Linked DNA regions of Homo sapiens: regions 1, 2, 3 and 4 are each linked to region 5. The links are contacts of gene promoters, found by promoter capture Hi-C in blood cells and fetal thymus (Javierre and others, 2016). All regions are on one chromosome and are shown on one strand. Each heading gives the region's core, a stretch centred on a gene start or on the middle of the fragment in contact. The rest is flanking DNA. Distances are from core to core; before and after follow the strand shown.

Region 1 (2,700 bases), core at 135-2,634, 190 kb before region 5:
TGCAAAGAGCCCTGTTTTGTAAAGGAAATGGTGGCTCTCAGCTTACTAAGCAAGTCTCCCGCTAAAACCAGAAGGCAAGTAAGGGTATTTCTAGGAGCCGTGGGATTTTGCAGATTATGGATTCCAAACTTTGCGGTGCTAGCCAAACCATTGTATGGGGTTACAAAGGGGGGCGACCAGGAGCCTTCTGAATGGGGACCTCTGCAACAGCAAGCCTTTTGCAAGTTAAAGGAAAAACTTATGTCAGCCCCAGCCTTAGGACTACCAGATTTGACAAAGCCCTTTACACTCTATGTGTCAGAAAGACAAAAAATGGCAGTCAGAGTTTTAACCCAAACTGTGGGGCCCTGGCCAAGACCAGTGGCGTACCTCTCAAAACAGCTAGACGGAGTTTCAAAAGGCTGGCCTCCATGTCTGAGAGCCCTGGCAGCTACAGCCCTGTTAGCACAAGAAGCAGACAAGCTAACCCTTGGGCAAAACTTAAGTATAAAGGCCCCCCCCATGCAGTGGTAACTTTAATGAATACCAAAGGACATGATTGGTTAACAAATGCTAGATTAACCAAGTACCAAAGCTTGTTATGTGAAAACCCCCACATAACCACTGACGTCTGTAACACTCCGAATCCTGCCACCTTACTCCCAGCATCAGACAGCCCTGTCGAACATGACTGTGTGGAAGTGTTGGACTCAGTCTATTCTAGCAGGCCCGATCTTCGAGACCAGCCATGGGCATCAGTGGACTGGGAGTTATACGTGGACGGGAGCAGCTTCATCAATCCGCAAGGAGAAAGATGCGCAGGATGTGCGGTGGTGACCTTGGATGATGTTATTGAAGACAAACCGTTGCCTCACGGCACTTCAGCCCAGAAGGCAGAGCTCATTGCTTTAACCCGGGCTCTAGAACTCCGTGAAGGTAAGACTGTGAACATTTATCCTGACTCTCGATATGCCTTTCTAACCCTCCAAGTGCACGGAGCATTATATAAAGAAAAAGCCCTGTTAAATTCCGGGGGAAAGGACATAAAATATCAACAAGAAATTCTGCAATTATTAGAGGCAGTATGGAAACCCCAAAAGGTAGCAGTCATGCATTGCAGGGGACACCTGCAAGCTTCCACCTCAGTAAGCCAAGGAAACTCCCGAACAGACACAGAGGCACAAAAAGCAGCATCTACTCTTTACCAGGCATCAGTCACAGCCCCTCTACTCCCTCAAACACCTGATCTGGTGCCTACTTATTCTAAAAAGGGAAAAGACGTTCTTCAGGCAAAGGGAGGACAAACAATAAAAGAAGAATGGATAAAGTCACCAGATGGGAGAATAGCTGTGCCACAGCTGCTAGGAGCCGCAGTTGTGCTGGCTGTACATGAAACTACCCATTTAGGCCAGGAGTCACTTGAAAAGCTGTTAAGCCGGTATTTCTACATCTCACACTTGCCAGCTCTTGCTAAAACAGTAGCGCGGCGATGCACAATGCAAAGCAAGGTCCCCTGTTCCTCCCGGCACACAAGCCTGTGGAGCAGCTCCCTTTGAAGATCTTCAAGTGGACTTCACAGAGATGCCCAAATGCGGAGGTAACAAGTATTTACTGTTCTAGTGTGTACTTACTCTGGGTGGATAGAGTCTTATCCAACACGAACTGAAAAAGCTTGTGAAGTAACCCGTGTGCTTCTTCGAGATCTCATCCCTAGGTTTGGACTGCCTCTACGAATCGGCTCAGATAATGGGCCGGCATCTGTGGCTGACTTAGTACAGAGGACGGCAAAGGTATTAGGAATCACTTGGAAGCTACATGCCACCTACCAACCTCAGAGTTCCCGAAAGGTGGAGGGAATGAATTGGACTATCAAAAATAGTTTAGGGAAAGTATGTCAAGAGACAGGATTAAAATGGATATAGGCCCTTCCTATGGTATTGTTTAAAATTAGGTGCACCCCCTCTAAGAAAACAGGATACTCCCTTTATGAAATATTATATCATAGGCCTCCTCCTATACTGCGAGGACTTCCGGGTACTCCCCAAGAGTTGGGTGAAACTGAACTGCAGCGATAGCTACAGGCCCTAGGGAAGATTACCCAGACAATCTCAACTTGGGTAAATGAGAGGTGCCCGGTCAGCTTACTCTCCCCAGTTCACCCTTTTTCTCCAGGTGACCATGTGTGGATCAAGGACTGGAACGTAGCTCCTTCACGGCCACGGTGGAAAGGAACGCAGATCGTTATCCTGACCACTCCCACAGCTGTAAAGGTGGACAGAATCCCGGCCTGGGTTCACCACAGCCACGTAAAAAAATCCCGCAGCCCCTGAAACCTGGAGGGCCAAACCAAGCCTGGACAATCCCTGTAAAGTGACCCTGAGGAGGACGACAAGCCCTGCTCCAGTCACACCCGGAAGCTGACGGGTCCGCGCACGGCCGAAGCATGAGGAAAATCGTCATGGGACTTATTTTCCTTATGACATGGACTTGTGGGGTAAAAGCTTCCACTGCTTCTTTTCACATGGAAGACTGCTTTCAGTGGCTACATCAGGTCACTGAGGTAGGACAACAGGTTAAAACAATCTTTTTGTTCCATAGTTATTATGAGTGCCCAGGAACTCCATAAGGAACATGTTTATATAATAACACTCAGTACAAAGTATGTAATCCAGGAAGTGGGCAGCCTGATGTGTGCTATGACCCCTCTGAACCTCCCATGAT
Region 2 (2,700 bases), core at 143-2,642, 220 kb before region 5:
GAGCCTATAATGATCACAAAACACCAGAACCAAAGACCTAGATTCTAGTCTTGACTCTGTTCACTAAGTTCAAATCCTTCGTTAGTACAATGAAAGGCTATAATTAAACTAAAATCTCTCCTGGCTCTAATGAGCTACCAGACATGCAGCCTGAGATTCTGCCAAATACATCCCTTCTGCAACAGATAACAAAGTATGTGCTTGACAGTCTTTCCAGCTGCTTCAGTTAATCCGCCTTCTACGGTACTGTAATAGTACTCTGTTCAGTTATATAAAACCACATCAATTTAAGAAATAATGGAAGAAAGTAAAAGAAAGAGAGTCTACCTTTGGGCAAGATTTTAAGAACTAAATTCTAAATCAATAAAACTACATTTTTTAATAATAAAGGACTTTTATGTTTACACACACACATGCATATGTGTATATATGTATGTTTACATATATAAGTTGCTGGTGGGACAGCTCATATAAAGAGCTTTATTATTTCCATGTGAAGAGTTAAATTTAAAATTCCTTTTTATGTTTAGCTTCTCTTTATGAAAAGAAGTGCCTCCTATGTTAGCCAGCTATTTTAAAGAAGGCCACACACTTATTTACATTATTAACTCAGTGACTGTTTTTAAAAGAAAATTCACATATTGAAGCTTACTCTTTTAAAGGGAATATGGTCTTATGAGAGAAACAAAATGTATATTCAACTATTTTTCATGATTTTTAAAAAGACCTTTTACATTTTTTCTATGAATTAAATACTCATAGGTTTTTAGATACCTTAGAATTTATGGTTCTTTTAAAATTTAACAAGTCAGTGCTCTTCATAGTCTCACTGATCAATTTTATCATGACTTAGTGGCAACTAACATATTTCCTTCAGGAGAAGTAAAAAAGACAAATCTATTAGGAGTTTGTACCCTATTTATTATTCCCTTATTCCCCAGTGAGAAGTCTTGGATTATTTGAGAGATGAACTAAACCTCATAGGCTTTATCTCCTTTAAAAAATCTCTGATACTGGGTAAGTGAGGAGCTGCAGATGAAAGGTTTCCCATATTCCTTCCACTTATAGAGTTTCTCTTTCGTGTGAACTTTTTTGTGTCTACAAAGGTTTGATCTGTAACTGTAGGCTTTCCCACATTCCATACATTTATACAGTTTCTCTCCAGTGTGGATCCTCTCATGTTCGGTTAAAAATGAATACTGGCTGAAGGCCTTTCCACACTGATTACACTGATACGGTTTCTCTCCAGTATGAATTCTCTGATGCCTATAAAGGTTAGATTTGCAACCAAAGGCTTTCCCACATTCCTCACATGTATAAAGTTTTTCCCCAGTATGAATTTTCCGATGTTCATTAAAGGATGAATACTGGTTGAAGGCTTTCTCACATTCGTTGCACTGATAAGGTTTTTGTCCAGTGTGAATTCGCTGATGTTCGATAAGGGTTACAATACGTGTGAAGGTTCTCCCACATTCCAAGCATGTATACAGTTGTTCTCCAGTATGAAACCTCTGATGTTCAGCTAGAGATGTAAACTGGCTGTATCCCTTCCCACACTCACTACATTTATAGGGTTTCTCACCTGTATGGATTCTTTGATGCCTGTGAAGTTTTGCTCTACAGTTGAAGGCCTTCTCACATTCGCCGCATTTATAGAGTTTCTCTCCAGTATGAATTCTCTGATGTACAGTGAGGGTTGAACACTGGCTAAAGGCTTTACCACATTCCCTACATCGATACGGTTTCTCTCCAGTATGCACTCTCAGATGTTTGATAAGGGTTGAACTGTTGCTAAATGCCTTCTCACATTCATTACACTTGTAAGGTTTCTCTCCAGTATGAATTCTCTGATGAGAAAGAAGGGATGATCTGTGGCTGAAGGTTTTTTCACACTCATTACATTTGTAGGGTTTCTCACCTGTATGAATTCTCTGATGTTCAATAAGATGCAGATTCTGCTTGAAGCTCTTCCCACATTCATTACAGATGTGAGGTTTTCCTCCTGGGTAAATCTGGAAGCATTTCATGAGATCAAAATTCTGTTTAAAATCTTTCCCAAATGTATAATACATATTGGGTATCCTTTCTATAGGAACACTCTGTTGTGTGACAAGAGCTGTATTTGTAAATAAGCTTTTCCCCAATTCAAGACTTGTATGGTTTCCATCTTCACTGATGGTTTTCTCATGCGAATCTATCATTTGTCTAAGAGGTTTCTTCTCTTGCTCTTCTTCTATCTCGCTCTCAAATTCCACAGCTTCTTCAAAGTTAATGTCCCAGTGACCATCCTTAATGGATTCTTTCTTTACCATTCCCTGAGATGTTTCTTCTATAAAAATGTCCTGTCTATGAGGCAATGCTTCTGTTTCAAGCCAAGTCTTGAAACCTAAAATGAATCAGAAGAATTAATGCCTCCTCTGCTGGAAGAAACAAACTGATGTATCGGTGAGACAAAAAAACTGGTAACAGTATATATGAAAGAAGAGTGATACAATCAGATTTCAAATGCTGACTTGAATCTTGGGAAGAACAGGATGGGATAAAGGAAAGTGAGGTAAACAGGTTAAGGAATGGCATGGGAGAATACACTGGACAAATTAACAATGAAAATGAAGCGATTCCACCTGGATATAGTAAAGTTAGATGCAGAAGAACAGGCTGAGTAGAAGATATGAGGATACAGAAAAATGCCAAATGATA
Region 3 (2,742 bases), core at 28-2,527, 140 kb after region 5:
GATGTTTTTACAGATGAAATGATTTTGCTGTCTGGGATGTGCTCTAGCATAACCTAGTGGACGAGATGAAAGGGTTTGTGTTAGTTTGCTAGGGCTCCATACTGAAGTACCACAAGCTTCGTGGCTTAAAACAGTAGAGATTTACTGTCTCACAGTTCTGAAGGTCAAAATCAAGATATTCGCAGGGCCCCGCTCCCTCTGAGACTCTGCATAGAATTCTTCCTTGCCTTTTGCTAGCTTGTAGCGATGGCCAACTTGGAGATCTCCGTGGCCTGCAGCTGCATCAGTCCTATCTGTGCCTCCGTCTTCACACTGTGTTCGCCCGGTGTCTTCACATCATCTTTCCTTCTGGATGCCTGTGTCCAAATTTCCCCAGTTTACGGGGACAGCAGTCACGCTGGATTAGGGCTCACCCCAATGACTTCATCTTAATTTGATTGAACGTGCAAAGACCATATTTTAAAGTAAGGTCACGTTCTGAGGTCCTGGAAGTTAGGACTTCTACGTCTCTCTTTTGAATGATGCGGTTCAGCCCATAACAAGGTTGTCAATAGAATAGTGTTGCTGGTTATTGAAACTGGCTGGAGATTCACTGTACAATTCACACTACTTTTACATATGCTGAAAATTTCTATGTTAAAAGCTTTAAAAATAAGAGTTACCACAACAACATTTCTAAAACAGCTTTTCTCTTTTCCACCAGCACAAAGATGATAGAGGATGTTTACAAATAGGCAGTACTACCCCCATCATGGTTTATGTGCAGTTCCCAGCAGATTGCTCCTTGAGTTCTCTGACTCTAGAAAACCTTGTGAGACTGCAAATGCAAGTGACATTTTTTTTTTTTTTTGAGACGGAGTCTCGCTCTGTCGCCCAGGCTGGAGTGCGGTGGCGGGATCTCGGCTCACTGCAAGCTCCGCCTCCCGGGTTCACGCCATTCTCCTGCCTCAGCCTCCCAAGTAGCTGGGACTACAGGCGCCCGCCACTACGCCCGGCTAATTTTTTGTATTTTTAGTAGAGACGGGGTTTCACCGTTTTAGCCGGGATGGTCTCGATCTCCTGACCTCGTGATCCGCCCGCCTCGGCCTCCCAAAGTGCTGGGATTACAGGCGTGAGCCACCGCGCCCGGCCGCAAGTGACATTTTTATAGGTGGAGCTTTTACTCTGACTAGCTATAGGATAAGGTGGGGGTGGATACTTCAGCAAATAAGTCTGGAAAACTGACTTGCATTCAAAGACTTGGGTGCTGCCTTCAGCCCTTGTGCTACCCCTTCATCTAGCCTATGGCGATTCCTTTCACATCCTATCTTATATGTCAATTCTTACGAAACACTCCAGCAGCGTCCTGCTGCACCCCTTTTCTACCTGCACCCTCACTATCTAAGGACAGTTGGATATGATTCTAAGCTCGTGTTCACGTCCATTTCTAGCTTATGTTTCTATTGTAGAAATTGTCACATTGTATTGTGATTACCTACTGATGTCTTCATTTCTAATGTCTGACTATAAACTCTCTGAAGAAATCAACTGTTCCTTTTAATTACTGGATCCGTAGGGAACTGTGGATCACCGATGCCTAGGATAGAGCCTAATACATAGTAGGTACTTTTTAAATATTTGATAAATTAATAAAGTAAGGCGTGACCAATGCTTTTTGAAATAACATGACCAATTCTGTGTATTAAGAGGGGTAAATCCAGTGGGAAATAATACTGGAAAGGCAAGAAACAGGTCAAAGGAATAACTTAAGATCAGGAGCAAGTCACTCTACAGTGAGGAGATCCTGAACTTAGACATATTCACGATGGCTTATTAGAGACATTTTAGTGATGAGATTTAAGAGAATGTGCAGCCTGGGCAACACAATGAAACCCTGTCACTACGCAAGATAAAAATATTAGCCAAGCTTGGCAGTGTGCACCCGTAGTTCCTGCTGCTCAGGAGGCTGAGGTGGGAGAATCGCTTGAGCCCTGGAGTTTGAGGCTGCAGTGAGCTATGATGGCACCAGTGCATTTCAGCCTGGGCAACAGAGCAAGACCCTGTCTCTCAAAAAACAAAAAAATGAAGATTTTGATGACTGCCTAGGGAAGAGAAATTCTAAGATAAAACTAAGAATTTACGGTAAATTAACTGAAGAGATGATGGTGTCATTTTGAACTGGAAAACATATAAAAAAGGTTTGAAAAGGAATGCTCTGGGTTCAGATTTGGACAGGCTGAATTTAAAAAGAAAGATACACAAGTGGAAATTCTAACCGGCAGTTGGAAAGACCTCTGTAAAGTATTTTTCAGGATAGTCGTACACATAAGAGGTGTGGGAGTAAATGAAATCATCCAGGGAGATAGGGTTGAAGAAACACTCTCTGGGTGTAGTGAGAGTCCAGGTGGAAGAGTCTAGACCTGATAACAGGAAGTGGTCAGGGCAGTGGCCATCAGCAAGATGATTCTGGCTTCTCAACTTCTGACCTAGGTCTTCACCTTGTTTAACAGGTAGCTGAGGACTGGGCTTGATTCTAGGAGGAAGCAAAGGTTGAACTGCACCTCAGGAGACCTATTTGTAGGCCTCTAGAAAGTTCTAAACAGATCATAAGGAAGAGTCAGGATATCCACAATCCAAAACTTACGTCTGCTTCTGTGAAAAACATGATTTCAGGACTAAAATATTGGCACTTTAGAGTTGGGATGAGTTTTCCAGAATTGATAATGGACTTCCGAGTCGTAATCATATCCATTAAAAAATAAA
Region 4 (2,700 bases), core at 25-2,524, 170 kb before region 5:
ACATTCCTTACATTTATAGAGCTTCTCTCCAGTGTGGATTCTCTGGTGTTTACTCAGGGAGGAACTGTGGAGGAAGATTTTCCCACAGATATTACATTTATAACATTTACGCACTGTGTTGACCCCCAGTTGTTTAAAGAGAACTGAATACTGCTGTGAACGGGGTCTCCTTCCTCTGGAAACTATTCTCGGTTTTCTAATAAGCGATGATTTTAGACCAAGATTTTTCCCAAATTCAACACCTTTAAAGCTCCTCTCCTTCATGTAGACTTTTTTGATGGTAACTAACACTTTACTGAAAAGTCTGTTCTTTTTGCCTTGTTGCTTCTCTAACTTATCTTCATTTATGTAGGTCTTCTCCAACTTGAAGTCAAATGTGCCATCAATTATGAGTTTTTTCATGACTTCCTGATTTTCTTCTTTAGAAACTATGGTTCCAAACAAGCTTTCCCATCCTAAAGTAGACAAAACATATAAGTCTCTCTTGAACTCAGAATTTTAAAAAGTGACATAAAAACGCACAAGGATAGTTAAAAAATATAAAGCCTTGAAATCTTAGAAAAGGATGGGAAAAAGAAGAGGAGGAAGGAAGCAGGATGACAGACATGTGGGTGGGAAGGGTCTGAAGAAACCTACATATAGGTGGGCTGAGGAAATTAGGGGACAACAGGAAGAGCCAGGCTCGATCTATTAACAAAGCACAGCTCGCTAGGCTATGAGGCCCTTCTGAACACAGCCTGTGTCCCTCAGCGTCATCTCCCAGGGCAGCTACCAGTGCACTCAGGTAAATACCAAGGGAAAAACTGCAGAGGGGCTAAAATTAAATGAAAGAGAAGAGCTCCGCCAAACACAGGATGTCAAGCAGTGCTGCTCTAGGCCTCCTCAGAATGCTGTAAATAATGGCATCCACTTACTCAAGTAATACCTACTGAGTGCCTACTGTGTGCTACGCAAACGTTAAGACTCTGAGAATGACAGGGCACAAGCCAGACAAGGGCCTACTCTCAAGGTTTTCATTCCAGCAGTGTGATACAGACAATGACCAAGTAACAAATCAACAGCAGTACAAAGGAGCAATGAGAACTGTAAGAAAACACGAACGAAGCACTGTGTAATAAGAGTGAATAGGCAACTATTTTAAACTGGGTGATGAGAAAATGAAATTAAAGATGAGATCTAAATAACAAGCGCTGGCCAGACAAAAATTAGGGTATAAAGGTGATTCCAGTCAGAAAGAACAGTAACACAAAGGCCCTAGGCAGGAATAGCTTCCTGTTTTCCAGGACATATAGCAGTCCATGATAGCTGAAGCAGAGTGAACAAGAAGAGAGTGTCACAGATGAGGAAAAGAGGTGGGCCAGGCTATATTGTGGAGCGTTTTCTAGGATACAGGAAGATATTGGAAGTTCATCAGCATCACTGAGGGCTAGAAGGGACATGAAATGATGTGGTTTTTGTTTAAAAAGGATCACTCTGGTTGCTATATGAAAAACAAACTGTAATGGGGCCGGGGAGAAAGAGAACAAGGGCAGCTGCAGAACAGGCAATGAGGCCGCTGCACTCTTCCTGGATGAAGATGGTGGTGGCTGACACTGGCATGTGGTGATAAGAGACGGAAAGAGGTGGGCGTATCTGGGATGTTCTGCAAGTAGCACTGGCAGGTATCTTCACCTACGAATAGAGCGCAGAGGCAATGAAAGAGGGGACTCAAGGATGACTCCTAGCTTTTGGTCTGGGCAACTCAATGGACACCAACACCATTATCATGATATTGGGGAATACTGGGAGAAAAGAACATTATTGAGAGTAATTTTTTGTCTACCTTTTTGGTTACTTAAGATACAGTACAAGAAATGGAATCATTGATTCAAAAGAAATGTATTTCCTTTTGTATTTTATGAAACAGCTTTTATTTTCTTAACTACAAAAGAAATATATCATCATAAGAAAAACACAGAAAACTATAAAAATGAACACATAGCTCACCCATAAATACATCATGCAATTGTAATCACTATCATATGTGGGACATAGCTCACCAGAATTTTCTGCATATAAAAAATCACTTAATTAAAAAATTAAAATGGATTGAAATTAAGCTTCCTTTACCTCCATTTCACTTAAAAATCATGAGCTTCTCTCCATGTCAATAAATGTAGGCTGACATCATCATTTTAATGGCAATATAATATGTCCAATGCATGAAAACATCATCATTTACTAAATCCCTTTTTGAGAGTCATTTACCCTCCTCCTTTTGTGGCAGTGATGCCTCATGTTATAACAAACATTCTTTTACAACATCTTTGTAACTCTGCACAGTTATCTGTGCAGAAATTATCTTAACATTTCTACACTTGGAATTGATTTTAATAAAACCAGACCATCCTCAGAAAGACTACCAGTTGCAGTCCCACTAACGATACTGCTTATCACTCACAGCAGTGGCAACACATTGGGTATCTATTTCTTAATCCTTGGTAATAAGGGAAAAATGGTAACTTGTGCTTCGTTGGAATTTCATTGATTTTAATTTAATGAAGTTGAATAGTGCTTCAAAAAATCCCTTGTGGATTTTTAATCCACATGCCTGGCCTTTTCAATCACAATACTCATGTCTTTGTACTGTGATGATTTACTCTTGGTACCTTTGCCTCTTTATATTATGGCTTTGTATTCCCATAACCATCTTAGCAATAT
Region 5 (2,757 bases), core at 214-2,713:
GACAGGAACGGAGACATGGGTGAGTGGAGGAGGCAGGGATTTTTCCCACGTGTGTACGTTTGCTCTTAGTGACAGACAGACTTGTGGTATCTTACTTGTCAAACTAGTCACACAATGGATGAAGATTCGTGAACAAACTGTTAATTAAAAACCACTAGACACGGGTGGGGAGGGTGGGTGGTCCTCCCTACAGAATCCACCAGTCATGAGGGCGGACCAGCTCCTCCAAGAGAAAAGGACTTGGGCTCCATCCTGGCTGGAGATGGTCCCGGGTGAAGAACTCCAGTTAGTGGGGAAAATCCATCCACTGGGATCTGGGAGGGCAATGAGCTCACCTGGGGCCTCGCTTCCCGCTGCCCAGCAGCCATGTCCTCTTTCTGGCTCTCCCGGGAGGACGGCGCAGTCTCCAGAAGGCAGATCTGAGAAGAAAAAGGGAGCCAGGAAGAACCCCTTCTGCTTTCCAGCCCTGGAATCCGCAGCTCTAAAACCCCGACTCCCGCTGAGAAGGACCCCGCGCGCCCTCACAGGGATTCGGGAGGAGCCAGGAGCCCGCGGACCAGAGCAGCGCTGGGCCGCCCGGCCAGGCCCAGGCCCCACAGGCTTGGGGCTTACGGAGGGGACGCTGGACCCGCAGTGGCAGCAGCGACCCGCTGAGCCCACCAGGGCCAGGGCTCGCCCCACGCCGCTGAGTTCCTCGGCGCCAGCTGGCACTGCCAGCACCCACTGCACCGCTCAGGAAACTGAGGCAGCGCCGGGGCACCTGCCCCGTTCACGCCGCTGCGAGGCGGGCCGGGACTCCCACCACGACGGCCCCGGGACGACTTCCCTCCGCCTCAAGCCTTTCCCAGCCGGTTCCTCTCTCTCCCGCCAACGAATCGTCTCCCGACTCCACGGAAAACGGCTTTGAAGAGGAAAGCGCTGGGTGTCCCGAGGCAGGAGGAGTGGCCGTCCTGGGGACTGACTCAGAAACCGGGCCCGGCTGCCTCTGCCCTGCGCTCGGGGTCCCGGCGCCCCGAGTCCGCGAGGCCCACACGGCGCGCGCAGGGTGGGCCCGGGAGGAAACGCCTGGCCCCGCGTTCACGGCGGGCGGCGCGAGCCAGAGGCAGGGGCGTCGGCAGCGGCACCGGAGCGGCCCGTGAGGGGCGAGAGTCCAAGTCCTGGCGCGGGGGCCGGTGACAGACGCGGGGGTGCCCCCCCGCGCCCACAGAGGCCCTCGGAGCCCCGCGGCCTCAGGTCGCCCTGGCGCCAGGCGCCGCCTCCTCCCGGCACAGCCAGCCATGCCGCTCACCTCCCCAGGATCCCGCGTTCCCGGGCCGCGCCTCCCCGCCGCACTCTGCAAGCAGGAAGCTCCAGCCTCGTGACCCGGCTCCTCCGACGTCTGGGCGACCTCAAGCCCGGCGCCGCTCACCGGGCAGCGAAAGCTCCGCAGAGCGCCTGGGACCTAGAGGAGCAAGGCGGCCGCTAAGGCCTCTAGGAAATGGAGTCCACGGGAGGACGCTGGCTTTCTGGGAAGTGTAGTTCCACGCGTTTGAGGCGAGGTCGCAGCTGAGCTGTTAGGCGCCCAGACCTATGAGAGGGCCCGGGTGAGCTGTAGAGCCCCGGGTTCCTGGTTCTTCGGAAGAGAAGGGGAGGTTCCCGGAGGGCAGTAACTTGCAACTCTGTGTGTGAATTTCAGGATGGCGTGGGCGGCACGAAAACAACTACTACACAATTGGGAAAGGAAAATCCCCTGCAAAAGATGTTGACAAAGCTGGATTTCCACGTGCAAAAGATGAGCCTGTACCCTGACCGTACACCATACATAAAAATTAACTCAAAATTGATTAAAAACCTAAATGTGAGACCAAATTATTTTATAAATTACTAAAGTAAAAAGGGAAAAAACTTCAGGATGTTGGAGATGGCAATGATTTCTTGAATATGACATCAGAAGCACAGATAACAGCAAAAATAGACAAATGGGACTACATCAAACTTAAAAACTTTGGCTAATCAAAGGAAACAAAGGCAATCTACAGAATAGACGAAAATGCTTACATATCATATATCTGATTTGCAATGTATCCTGGATTTATATGGAACTTTTACAACTCAACAACAATAACAAAACCAAATAACCTGATTTTAAAATGGACAAAGGACTTGAATAGGCAATTCTCCAATGAAGATATACAAATGAGCAATGAGCAACAAGCATATAAAAAGATGGTAAACATCTCTAGGTATAAGAGAAATATAAACCCAAACTCAATGAGAAATCACTGCACCTCCATTAGGATGGCCACTATCAAAAGGATGTAAATTGGTACAATCATTACAGAAAACGGTATAGAGGTTCCTCAAAAAATTATAACTAGAGCTACATTAGGATCCACCAATCCCATTTCTGGCTATAGATCCAGAGGAAGTGAAACTCCGTGAGATACCTGCACTCCCATGTTAGCTGCAACATTATTCACCATGGCCAAGATATGGAAACAACTATCTGTTGATGGATGAATAGATAAAGGAAATGTTTTGTTTGTTTGTTTGTTTGGGACGGTGTCTTGCTCTGTCACCCAGGCTGGAGTGCAATGGCGCAATCTTGGCTCACTGCCACCTCCGCCTTCCAGGTTCAAGCAGTTCTCTGCCTCAGTCTCCCAAGTAGCAGGGATTACAGGCACCCGCGACCACGCCCAGCTAATTTTTGTAGTTTTAATAGAGATGGGGTTTCACCATCTTCACCAGGCTGGTCTTGAACTTCTGACCTCGTGATCC

What was found. Contacts are between HindIII fragments. The CHiCAGO score rates a contact against its expected background, and 5 or more counts as called.
Region 1: a fragment that was not itself captured here is called in contact with the fragment with the promoter of ZNF354B in region 5 in 1 of 17 cell types (non-activated CD4 T cells); the score reaches 5.4 in non-activated CD4 T cells.
Region 2: a fragment that was not itself captured here is called in contact with the fragment with the promoter of ZNF354B in region 5 in 10 of 17 cell types (non-activated CD4 T cells, M1 macrophages, erythroblasts and 7 more); the score reaches 9.0 in non-activated CD4 T cells.
Region 3: a contact is called between a fragment that was not itself captured here and the fragment with the promoter of ZNF354B in region 5, in 4 of 17 cell types (non-activated CD4 T cells, naive CD4 T cells, monocytes and 1 more). The highest score is 5.5, in non-activated CD4 T cells.
Region 4: a fragment that was not itself captured here is called in contact with the fragment with the promoter of ZNF354B in region 5 in 10 of 17 cell types (total CD4 T cells, naive CD4 T cells, non-activated CD4 T cells and 7 more); the score reaches 10.2 in total CD4 T cells.

The regions. Positions count from the first base shown.
Region 1 is chr5:179,050,735-179,053,434 of GRCh38, reverse strand. No RefSeq gene overlaps it. Among named protein-coding and RNA genes, the nearest start is that of ZNF354C, 8.3 kb to the left of the region's middle. The HindIII fragment of the contact is 537 bases long and covers 1,116-1,652 here.
Region 2 is chr5:179,078,369-179,081,068 of GRCh38, reverse strand. It overlaps ZNF354C (zinc finger protein 354C), which reads right to left. Exons shown (of 5, transcript NM_014594.3): 5 at 1-2,386. The coding sequence ends at 972. Among named protein-coding and RNA genes, the nearest start is that of ZNF354C, 19 kb to the right of the region's middle. The HindIII fragment of the contact is 1,486 bases long and covers 650-2,135 here.
Region 3 is chr5:178,718,055-178,720,796 of GRCh38, reverse strand. All of the region lies in intron 4 of ZNF354A (zinc finger protein 354A), which reads left to right. Among named protein-coding and RNA genes, the nearest start is that of ZNF354A, 11 kb to the left of the region's middle. The HindIII fragment of the contact is 1,263 bases long and covers 646-1,908 here.
Region 4 is chr5:179,029,960-179,032,659 of GRCh38, reverse strand. ZNF879 (zinc finger protein 879) reads right to left here. Exons shown (of 5, transcript NM_001136116.3): 5 at 1-455. Among named protein-coding and RNA genes, the nearest start is that of ZNF879, 7.5 kb to the right of the region's middle. The HindIII fragment of the contact is 1,654 bases long and covers 448-2,101 here.
Region 5 is chr5:178,858,659-178,861,415 of GRCh38, reverse strand. It overlaps ZNF354B (zinc finger protein 354B), which reads right to left and starts at 1,463. Exons shown (of 5, transcript NM_058230.3): 1 at 1,289-1,463; 2 at 336-419. The coding sequence starts at 368. RefSeq lists silencers at 897-976, 1,057-1,256 and enhancers at 1,397-1,596, 881-1,613. The HindIII fragment of the contact is 7,869 bases long and covers 1-2,757 here.